Regions from separate parts of the Homo sapiens genome. Here all the other regions are linked to region 2. The links are contacts of gene promoters, found by promoter capture Hi-C in blood cells and fetal thymus (Javierre and others, 2016). All regions are on one chromosome and are shown on one strand. The core of a region is centred on a gene start or on the middle of the fragment in contact, and the rest is flanking DNA. Distances in the headings are between cores, read along the strand shown.

The links. Contacts are between HindIII fragments. The CHiCAGO score rates a contact against its expected background, and 5 or more counts as called.
Region 1: a fragment that was not itself captured here is called in contact with the fragment with the promoter of RNF7 in region 2 in 7 of 17 cell types (naive B cells, fetal thymus, naive CD4 T cells and 4 more); the score reaches 10.3 in naive B cells.
Region 3: the fragment with the promoter of TRPC1 here is called in contact with the fragment with the promoter of RNF7 in region 2 in 3 of 17 cell types (total B cells, fetal thymus and total CD4 T cells); the score reaches 7.7 in total B cells.

Annotation. Positions count from the first base shown.
Region 1 is chr3:142,278,339-142,282,216 of GRCh38, reverse strand. No RefSeq gene overlaps it. Among named protein-coding and RNA genes, the nearest start is that of GK5, 55 kb to the right of the region's middle. The HindIII fragment of the contact is 1,192 bases long and covers 1,927-3,118 here.
Region 2 is chr3:141,736,307-141,740,074 of GRCh38, reverse strand. RNF7 (ring finger protein 7) reads right to left here and starts at 1,777. Exons shown (of 3, transcript NM_014245.5): 1 at 1,559-1,777. The coding sequence starts at 1,733. RefSeq lists enhancers at 626-1,304, 1,505-1,744, 1,305-1,984, 2,095-2,144, 2,185-2,234 and silencers at 1,305-1,484, 1,745-2,004. The HindIII fragment of the contact is 15,473 bases long and covers 1-3,768 here.
Region 3 is chr3:142,722,469-142,726,194 of GRCh38, reverse strand. It overlaps TRPC1 (transient receptor potential cation channel subfamily C member 1), which reads right to left and starts at 2,161. Exons shown (of 13, transcript NM_001251845.2): 1 at 1,464-2,161. The coding sequence starts at 1,635. RefSeq lists an enhancer at 743-1,609 and a silencer at 1,868-1,917. The HindIII fragment of the contact is 1,344 bases long and covers 1,491-2,834 here.

The DNA of each region.
Region 1 (3,878 bases), core at 1,273-3,772, 540 kb before region 2:
CAGGTTGGAAGAACATTATAAAAGAAGAGATAGAAGCCATTTTAAACAACGAAAGAAGGAAAATTACCACAGAAAAGTCTGGGAGTTCCAATTAGGATTGTCAAGAGGTGCTGCCTCTCTTCCTATTGGGAATGGTGTTTCCCCTATTTCTTCACATTCTCTATTTTCTCCTTTCCCTTTTGGCCTGCTGTAGGAAACATATTGCTCATCTCTGAAATGCTCTGCTGCCTGCAGAGCTGCCTGTTTTTCAGCTACGGTTAGGGTTTGGTTTAGGAGCAGCATAATATCACTTTATGAGAGGTTAAACACCTGAGTTAAATTTTGGAAAGCTTCTATATAACTATCAGAGTTGTCAGAAAATCGGCCTAAGTCTCCCTTTATTTACCTAAGGTCCTGTAATGATAAGGGAACTTTAGGGGGCCCCAAGTTAGGGGGATCCTCAGATGGTTCCCCCAGAAGTTGCTTCTCCAATTTTGGGGAATCATTCTCTATAGGCCTGTCTGATATGACTACTACAAGAGCTGGGTTGATTGTGCAATGCTTGCAAAGGTCTAGTAAGAAGGCCATGCCCTTGTGTAAAAGAAAGTGAGCCACTTTTCCTTCAAAGTCTCAGGGTTAAAGGAGTCCCTGTGCTTCAGGATGCACCCCAGAGGGGTGCAAGCTGAAGATGGTTTGTTACCCATTTAGAAAGAGAAGCAAGAAAAAGGCATCCCTTTTGTCTCCTTCCTTTTGGTGTGACCAAGTGTGGAGGAAAAGACAATGGGGGCGTCCTCTCTGCTGTTTTCCCTCCTTGGTTCCTAGGTCCTGGCACCTTGTTGAACACGCCACCCATGGTTGTAAGTGTGACCGCCCCCCAGCCATGGAACCAGAGGAACTAAGCAATTGAGATTAGTCACGCTTACCCATGTGACTCTAGTCCTCTGCCTGTGATTTCCCTTTGACTTCCTAGACTTGTGTGATCTGTGTGCCTCCCTGAAAAATGGATATTGGGAAGGACTACGTAATAGTTGCCTTTGGAGCTGGGCACAGTGGCTCATGCCTGTAATCCTAGCACTTTGGGAGGCTGAGTCATGTGGGTCACCTGAAGTCACCCAGGTTGGTTCGAGACCAACCTGGCCAACATGGCAAAACCCCATCTCTACTAAAAATACAAAAATTAGCCAGTCTTAGGCCGGTTATGGTGGCTCACGCCTGTAATCCCAGAACTCTGGGAGGCCGAGGTGGGCGGATCACGAGGTCAGGAGATCGAGACCATCCTGGCTAACACAGTGAAACTCCATCTCTACTAAAAAAAAAAAAAAAATTAGCCGGGCGTGGTGGTGGGCGCCTGTAATCCCAGCTACTTGGGAGGCTGATGCAGGAGAATGGTGTGAACCTGGGAGGTGGAGCTTGCAGTGAGCCGAGATCACACCACTCCACTCCAGCCTGGGCGACAGAGCAAGACTCCATCTCAAAAAAAAAAAAAAAAATTAACCTGTCTTGGTGGCAGGCACCTATAATTCCAGCTACTCAGGAGGTTGAGGGGGGAGAATCACTTGAACCCAGGGCGCAGAGGTTGCAGTGAGCCAAGATTGGACCACTTCACTCCATCCTGAGTGAAAGAGCAAAAACTCCATCTCAAAAAAAAAAAAAAAAAGGTCGTTGCCTTTGGAGGGTATTAGATTGAACTCCATATTTTGCTATTATGGCCCATGCTGAAGCATTTCCCCCTAGAGAATGGTTCTCATTAACTTCTGGACTTAAAATCCCCTTAATAAGTATTGCTTTAACTGGAGACATAAATAGGTGACTTAAAGGAACATAGGGACCTAATAGTGATTTTCCTGCTGATGGGACAGTATTGGAACTAAAATTTGGTTCTGGAGGACATTTTGCTCCTAATTGTTGAATGCAGAGTTTTCCCATCCACAGAAGCAGCATAAAGCTTGGTCTCTAGTAGAGAGGTGCAAAATGGGAGAAGAAGTGGGAAGGTACAGTGTTATGTCAAAGGACCGACAACGCCTCATGGAGATGATTTTTAGTTCACTAGGTGGCGATATTGACCTTAAAATGCCACGTGCTCTCCAGCTCAAGGGCAGAGAGTGACCTGGAGATGCCATGTGCTTTCCAGATCAAGGGCAGAGGGTGAAATGCTCACTGTGGGAGAAGACTTTCTGTTCCTAGGAAATCACAATGGCATTCCCCTGAGCTATATTCCAGTTACTACAGCATTTCCTGATCTTTCCTAACAGGATTACTTCCCTGAACTATAAAAATTCCTGCACATTGCATGCAGAGAAAATAGGAGACATGGTGACCATGGATAGAAGAGGAGGAAAATTTTGTAACAGGATAGCTAGAGATCCTTTTTGCCAGCACTCAGATGGGTGGCCAAAGGCTGGGTTCAACCCAGAAGCCTCTGGATAACACCAGGGTGTGCCCTGGCCAGAAATCCTTAGTTGCTCCAGGACCTCTCCCAGCCCCATGCAATGGCTGGGAGTGTGACCCCCCCAGCCATGGAACCAGAGGAACTAAGCGATTGAGTTCCATGAAAGGAAACTGGTTTGAAGCATTTTTAAATGGAGTCTGAGAGCCTTGATATTAAAGGTCAGATTTGAGGTTTGCTCCACACTTACTGCTCTGATGTTTATACTTTCCATTTTGGTTCTGATCCTGCATGAGCCCCCAGATGAAGCGGCATTGTTGTCTAGGGTAAATACCCAGGGTTCATTGTCTCGTGCCAAGAAAATTAAGGACACAAACACATGTGGGTGGGTTAAGGAGCAGAAAGTTTAATAGGCAGAAGAAAGGAGAGAGAAGAGCAGCTTCTTGTGAGAGAGAGGTGTCCGAAAAAGGGAAAAGTGGCAGACCATAGCAGATTTTATAGGCAGGCTTGGTAAAGCCCACTGATCCGTTCAATCAGGTTTGATGTTTACATAGCCCACAGGGAAGGCTGGTTTCCCCACCCTAATCTTATTATGGAAATGGGCTTTCCACTTGGCCAGCGCCATCTTGTCTGCTCCTTACTATACACATGACTGACAAAGAGAAGGGAAGATGGAGCCACCATTTTGAACTTGCCTAGTCCCACATAGTATTTTTCTATTGGCACAACTGCTGGCATTCACCTGTGCAAGCTTCCAGCTTGCTTGTCCATGTCTGTAGCTCAATTTTACAGGCTGTTCTTTGTTAGAAAAGAAAATGATTTGAGGGCTGCTTTTTATTAAAAGGAAAACCTTACCAATACCCTCAATATCTGCCTAAGTAATTTCTTCTTAACTCTTAGTGCTAAAGGTCTTAGCTGATAATAGCCACTGACAGCAACAGGCACTGTTAAGGGCTTTTTTCTTTTTTCCAATGTTTTATTATGAAAATTTTCTAATAGATAAATCTAAGTTTAAAATATTATCAGATGAACATCCATGTACCCACCACCTAGATTCTACCACTTACATTTTACTGTACTTGCTTTATTATATATCCATTCATCTATCCATCTATGGAAATATTTTAATCTTGGAAGAGCTCCTGGGAGCACCGTGTTGAGTCATCTGCTCTGCTTAGAATGTCAAAGAATAACTATTATGCCACATTGCATGAGTGGGGAGCACTAGCAAAACTATGTGCTTTTCTGACTAGGTGTGGTAGCTCACTTGAGGTCAGAAGTCTGAGACCAGCCAGGCAACATGGTGAAACCTTGTCTCCACTAAAAATACAAAAATTAGCTGGGCATGATGGCACACTAGTGTAATCACAGATACTCGGGAGGCTGAGGCATGAGAATCACTTGAGCCCGGGAGGTAGAGATTCAGTGGCTGAGATCACGCCACTGCACTCCAGCCTGGGCAAGAGAATGAGACTCTGTCTCCAAAAATAAAAATTAAATTTAAAAATAAACC
Region 2 (3,768 bases), core at 528-3,027:
ATACTTTTAAAGCCTCATATGTTTTGTTTGTTTGTTGCTGAGACAGGGTCTCATTCTGTCACCCAAGCTGGAGTATAGTGGCAGTGGCAGTGGCAGGAACAAGGCTCACTGTAGCCTCGACCTCCTGGGCTCAAGGGATCCTCCCACCTCAGCCTCCAGAGTAGCTGGAGGCCACCATGCCTGGTCAGCTTTTTATTTTAATTTTTAATTGTACAGACAGGGTCCTGCGATGTTGCCTAGGCTGGTCTCAAACTCCTGGGCTCAAGTGATCCATGTAAAATAAGTGGGTCATGTCTAATATCAAGGTCTTTCAAAAGAGAAAGATAAAAATATCTGAATCCAATTGTTGTAAATCCTCTTTGAAACAAGCCCTTAGGAATAAAAGACAAAAGAGCATAAACTGCGAAATCTCTTGATTCTGGTATGTTTACAGTCTCACCCCCCTTAAGGTGAGCAATTCTCTGTATGTTCTCCAATTCTCTCATTTTTCAAGACAAGTCACAGTTTTCAAACGATAGAAATGTCCGTTTTCTTTAACTACCCTCAATAAAGAATTCCACTGAAGAGGGTCTCATAGTAATTTTAAATGCCCTATCTGAAAATACAACTTGCATTTAAATAGCACCTGCTTTTCAAAGTGGTCTGAGTTCTTAGAACCATATAAAATATAACAAGATTAAGCTGTTCTGAAAAGTTTCACTTGGTCTAATATTTTAACTCAAAATATCACAGAAAGAAGACATATTTGTAAGAGGGTTCTCCACAAAGGCATGACTCAGAGCAGCACAGTATCTTCTCCAGGAAATGGCATCCAATATGGAGAGGGGGGTGTGATGGAGGTGAAGTTTTACGTTTCTGAAAAAAGGGCTTACAATTCTTCAGCTTCCATGAAACTTAGATATTCTTGAACCACACTGTTCCCTTCAAGCCACGCTAGTGCTATCTGACCCGTCTTAAATCAATCCAGATTTAAAAGCCATTCGAAGAGCGGCGGTAAGCTAATCCGGAAATGCAATGGCTATGAACACTTTCCTGCGTCCCTCGAGGAGAACTAAGGGTGTCGTTTTGTGGAAGATGACTCTGGAGCATCACTTTGGTGGTGACCAAGACTATTAAAGTTCACTGCTGAATCACGGCCTTTACCCTGACCACCTTGTGTTGAGCTTTTAGAGGTGGGGCTGGGGCTGGACACACAAACCGAAGTGTTTCCTGCTAGTTCCCAACAATCACCCGGTTTTACTTTCTTGGTCACACCCATCACTACCTGAAATTACCTTGTTTAACTCCGTTTATTGCCCGTCTCTCTCCCTAGAACACCAACCACCCGGCGCAGGGCGCCTGTTGCACAACCCCGCAGCCCCAGGCGGCGGCCGCAGCCCTCAGGAGCCGCAGCAGGAGCGTGGCTCCGCGTTCCTCCGGCGCCGGGGCAGGGCGACCTCCACCCACTCTCCCAGGCAGGGCACTTTCCGAGGCTTCTGACGGACGCCCGTCCCTTCCCAACCCCGAGGTCGGCTCCCGGAGGCCGCAGGGCGGCCCTGGACTCGCGTGCAGCGCTTACCCATCACCTGGACCCTGCAGATGGCGCACGTATCGCACTCCACGTCCCAGCTCCACATGGCCACCGCGTTCCACTTCTTGAGGGAGAACATCTTGTCGCCTCCCGACTTGGAGCCTGAGCTCCCGGAGTGAGAGGCCAGGGCGCAGGTTTCCTCTCCGTCTTCCACGTCGGCCATGGCGGCGCCGCGGAGCCGACGGCGGAGACGTTGGCTTGGGGAAGGCGGAAGGCTAGGGCGGCTCTGTGGAGCCGCCCGACGGGCCACAGCGCCGCCCGCAGGCCGCCAGCCACCGTGGTGCCTAGACCCCGGCTGCCCACGATTGGCTGGCGCGGCACAGTGACGTCACCTGACGCCAGCGCCAGGGGGGCGGGCAGGCCCCGCCCTCGCCGTCCTAGGCCAACTGAGAGGGCTCGGGCCCTTATGGGGCGACGCCGCTGAATCTGCCTGCTGCGCTGCGGGGTGTTACGTCTGAGCAGGCGCACAGATTGTGCAGGGATATGTGTCCTGCTTTACGGCTTCATTAAACCTACTGCTCTCAGAAATTATCTTGTTAATTTATTCGTTTGTCTCTTCCCTCCCAAATGTAAAACTCTATCAGAGCAGGAAACATGTTGCTATCACCACATTATCCTCCGTATCTGCAAAATGCCTGGCCACAGGAGGCACAATTATTTGTTGAGTGAATAAATGATCTTAAAGATCTAGAAATCTGGTTCAGTGATTCTCAAAACTTTTTGGTCCCAGGACTCCTTTTCACTTAAAAATTATTAGGACCTTAAAGAACTTTTATTTATGTAGGAAATGTGTAAATATATATATATATACACACACACATATTATGTATGAATATATATACACATATACAATGAATATATGTATATTCATATATACATACATTTCCTGTATATGTATACACACATATGTAGAGATTAATGTTTGCTTTTGAAGAAATTAAAACATTTTAAAATGTATTCATTAAAAATCACAGTAGTAACCTCATTACAGGTTATCATTAGAGGGATGACTTCACATACCATGTAGTTGCTAGAAACTCCGGTGTACACTCGTAGAATGAGAGTGAAAAGAGAGAAATAGCTCTAAATATTGTTAGGCAACTAGTTTGCCCTCTTTTGACCGCTAAAAGAGGTCGGGATCCCAGGAGTCCCGGTGTGTGGCGACACAACCCACACTTATTTTTCAGGCCCCGCTCCCTCAGCTGCACAGTCTCCATTCCTTCTGCTCAGTACATTTGAGCTAGTTTAACTTCCTCTTTTTATATGTAGGACTAATGAGGTCTGAAGAAGTGAAATGACAAAGATCACATCGTTATTATAGTAGTGCTTCTACGGCTAGCCCACCATCACATGTGTTTCCAAGAAAGCCGGTATCTCCATTGAAAAGAAAACAGAAGCACAGCCAGCCTAAGGAGATGCCTGACCCCACCATCACCTAGTGGTGGACAGCTACTCTGTCAAGTTTGGATTCTGAGCCTCTCCCCATCCCCTCATTTCCTGATACCTGGGCAAAAGCTAACCAGACTAATGGAGCCTGGCAGGGGAAACAAGAATGCATTAATATACAGAAACATAAATATGGACACAGGGTCACATTTGGTTAGATGCAAATGCGTATTTGTTGAGTGGTGTGTTAAGGGCTGTGAGGGTACAGGATGCAGTGAGGGAAAGCCTCATGAGAGAGGTAGAGGATGCAGTGAGGGAAAGCCTCATGAGAGAGTAGAGGATGCAGTGAGGGAAAGCCTCATGAGAGAGGTAGAGGATGCAGTGAGGGAAAGCCTCATGAGAGAGGTGAAGTTTGAACTGGGGGAACATGGGAGGTCTTCAGGGCCAGTGGAGAGAGCAAACCTCTCTGAGCTGTTGGCCAGAGCAGGGCACAATGGTGGCAGCAGACAGGAATTGGACCACACCTACTTTATAAGCCAGACACCCATTGGAGTGAGCACACAAAACATGTGTTCTCTTCTTACTGAACGACCACACATCTGCCTAGAGATGGCTGTAAATGCTAGGTATCTAACAAAGAAGGAAGGCTGGCACCAGAGGAGGATAAAACGCACCCAGTTGGTGAGAAGTTTGAAAGTCAAAAGGATGAAATGGTGAAAAGGAAAAGAATGGTTTCGCTGGAGGAATGGTATGTGCCCTTGCTGAGGCATGAAATCTGGAGAGAGGTGTCTGCTGCAATGAAATTTAAAATA
Region 3 (3,726 bases), core at 912-3,411, 990 kb before region 2:
TACATGGAGCCAGCACTTACTCATTTTAGTACAACACAATCTTCTCCCCTTCCTCTCTCAGAACTTTTGAGGGAAGAGAACTCAGGCAACCCACTCCAGCAATACTAAATAATTTTACATAATCCACAGACCCTATTTTTGTGACGTTGTAGATGTATATTCTGTTTCTTTACATCTCAAAGACTGCTCAAAGTTGTGTCCATGGTGTACTTTAACAATATTATTAATATTGCTTTCATAATATTATTTAATACTATTACATAAGAACATAAAAATGGCTCAACCACAGACATAGGTGGACTTTGTTTATATGTCAATTGTTTTCAAAAAATCATGTAAATAAAATCCTATTTCAAAAGCAGGAGGAGAGGTTAGGAAGGCTGTCATTTATTAATTACACATTCACACATACAAACAAACAAACAAAAATCCTGTGTAGTTAGTCTTTTCATAGTGTAAACTGCCCTTTGGGTTTGTTCCAGAAGTTTGCATGTTTCTAACAGAGTTTTCCTAAGTGTACAGCCATATAAATTTGGAAAAAGAAAAATTTTAGTGTTTCCATGTAGGAAACAAAAGCAGTCTTAGGGCAATCAATTTCCTATCCCTTTTGTTATATACATCACTACAAAGGATGATTGCGTGACATGGCCTTAATATGGCCATAAAAATGATTAACTTCTAGACTAAAAAAAGGATAACGCGCTAAATATATTCCACATATTTTTGCCTTGTAATTCCTGTAATTATTTTTCACTATCTTTATCTCCCAAAGAAAGATCTGGGAGCAATAAATCTTTCTCTCCAATAAAAAGCACTAACAATCAAAGGCGTTCCGTAAATCCAGAGAAAGTTTTGGCAACTAAGGCAGAATTTCTTCCGTCCCGTCCTTACTTCATGTATCTCCACCTAGGATATTCCGTTATTAATGCCAGTCAACAGTCACTGGCTAAAGCACTGGTCAGGTGAAGCTAAATAATAGAGGGTCTGGTTTTGTTTTTAAGAAAAACAAAAACCAGGTGATGAGAACCCTCCATACGAGGCATCCTAAGGTAAGGTGACGGAATTTTCCGACTGGAGTGTCGGAAACTAGCCTCTCGACTCCCGGAAGGAATGAACTGCGAGCCAGAGAGAAGACCAGGTCATTCATGCGGTCAGTAGCAAGGGCGGCGCTAAAACGCTGGGGTCGGGGCTCCCAAGGCGCTACCTAAACCCCGGACCCCAAGGCCAGAGCCACCCCCGACGGTGCAGCGCTCCGAGGGCGCAGCCCCAGCTCCACTCTCCCGCCAGCTCCACACTCACAGGGCAGAGGCGGTGAGGAGAAGACCGCCTGAGGCAGCAGGCGAGGCGGGAAGACACTCGGCGCCTGAGACAGAGGGAATGCCCCGATATAAGTTGAGGCGGGGGAGAGGACTAAAGGTCTGGAGGACAGGGGCGTCCAGAGGAGAAAGGGGCCTAACTCTCACCCTTGTCGCACGCCAGCAAGAAAAGCTTCTCATTCAGCGTATTCTCCTCCTTCACCTCCCGCACATCCTTCAGCGCCATCACCTCGTTCGGCGAGGAAGAGGATGGAGAGGAAGGCAGGGAGGAGGAGGAGGCGCCCGAGAGGTCCGTGCTCGGGTACAGGGCCGCCATCATCGCGGCCCATGAAGGGGGCAGGCCAGGAGACGGGGGCGGGGCCCCCACCGGCCCCGACCCCGACCCCGACCCCAGCCACGCCCCAGGGCTGGAAAAAGGATGAGTCGTTCCCACTGCTGCCTCGGCTCGAGGCCCGTTGGCCCCGAAGGGCGTCGCCTCCCCTGAGAACCAGCACTCGCCCTCCACTGACAGCCCCAAGTTGGTGGCGGCGCATGCGCGGCCCCGGGGCCAGCGACCCCTCCCCAGCCGCCGGCGCCCCGGCCGAGCCGGTCCGCGCCCGTCCGGGGACGACAGTGTGGCGCGCGCCAGGGCGGCAGCCGAGCACGGGGCCGTGCCAGGAGTCGCAGGGGCCGCGCCTGGGGCGGCCTAGCCCAGGAAGAGGACGAGAGATCTGTGGGAGAGGAGCTCCAAGAGGCGCTTCTGCGCACGTTGGGCTCCAGGGCTGTGGGAACCGCTGGCCCAGCTGCGCTCCGAGGAGATGTTCGCGACTCTGTCCTCACGTCATCCTCTGCTCCTCTGTAGCGACGACACTAGGGAGGAGCCTGCGGCAAGGGCGGGCTTGGGTGGGCGGGGCCTGCGGCAAGCGGGGCGTGGGTGGGTGGGGCCTGCGGTGGGGACGCACTGGGCTCCTGGAGCCCGCTGCAGCTTCCTTCGCTCTGGTGAGGTGAACCGCAGTCTGAGGAAGACTTCGCTCAATCGTCCCTTTCCACACCCAGGGTACTGGTTTAAGGTAATTAAGCAAATATGGAGCAGTATGTTAATTGAGTCTCTGACGACTTAATGTTTAGTCGAAATCCTTTGTGGAATTGTCCAGCTATTTCATATTCTGGTGCACTATGCTTTAAAGCACAATGGAGAGCCAGACTCGTGGGTTTGTATGTTGTACTCATTTTAGGCTGGAAATGAACTCTCATTTATAAAGGATATATAGATATATAATTATATTATGTTTAAATAATTTATACAAATATATAAATTTTTATTTCCATATTATTTCCATAGGTTTTTGAGGAACAGGTGGTGTTTGGTTACATGAGTAAGTTCTTTAGTGATGATTTGTGAGATTTTGATGTACCCATCATCGAGCAGTATACACTGAACCTAATTTTGTAGTCTTTTATCCCTCTCCCCCTTCCCAACCTTTCCCCGAGTCCCGAAAGTCCATTGTGTCATTCCTATGCCTTTGCATCCTCAAAGCTTAGCTCTCACTTGTGAGTGAGAACATACGATGTTTGGTTTTCCATTCCTGAGTTACTTCATTTAGAATAAGAATAATAGTCTCCAGTCCCATCCAGGTTTCTGCGAATGCCATTTATTCATTCCTTTTTATGGCTGAGTAGTATTCCATCATTATATATATATCACATATATATATACCACATATATATATATATATATATATATCACAGTTTCTTTATCCACTCATTGATTCATGGGCATTTGGGTTGGCTCCACATTTTTGCAATTGCGAATTGTGCTGCTATAAATATGCATGGGCAAGTATCTTTTTCGTGTAATGACTTCTTTTCCTCTGGGTAGATACCCAGTAGTGGGATTACTGGATCAAATGGTAGTTCTACTTTTAGTTCTCTAAGGAATCTCCACACTGTTTTCCATAGTGGTGTACTAGTTTACAGTCCCACCAGTAATGTAGAAGTGTTCCCTTTTCACCGCATCCACACCAACAGCTATTATTTTTTGATTTTTTTGATTATGGCCATTCTTGCGGAAGTAGGGTGGTACATACGGCATAGCAGTTTTGACTTGGAATTCCCTGATCATTAGTGATCTTGAGCATTTTTTCATATGTTTGTTGGCCATTTGTGTATCTTCTTTTGAGAATTGTCTATTCATGTTTTTTTGTTTTTTCTTGAGACAGAGTTTTGCTCTTGTTGCCCAGGCTGGAGTGCAATGGCGTGATCTTGGCTCACCGCAACTTCCGCCTCCCAGGTTCAAGTGATTCTCCTGCCTCAGCCTTCCGACCAGCTGGTATTACCGGCATGTGCCACCACACCCGGCTAATTTTGTATTTTTAGTAGAGACAGTGTTTCTCCCTGTTGGTCAGGCTGGTCTCGAACTCCAGACCTCAGG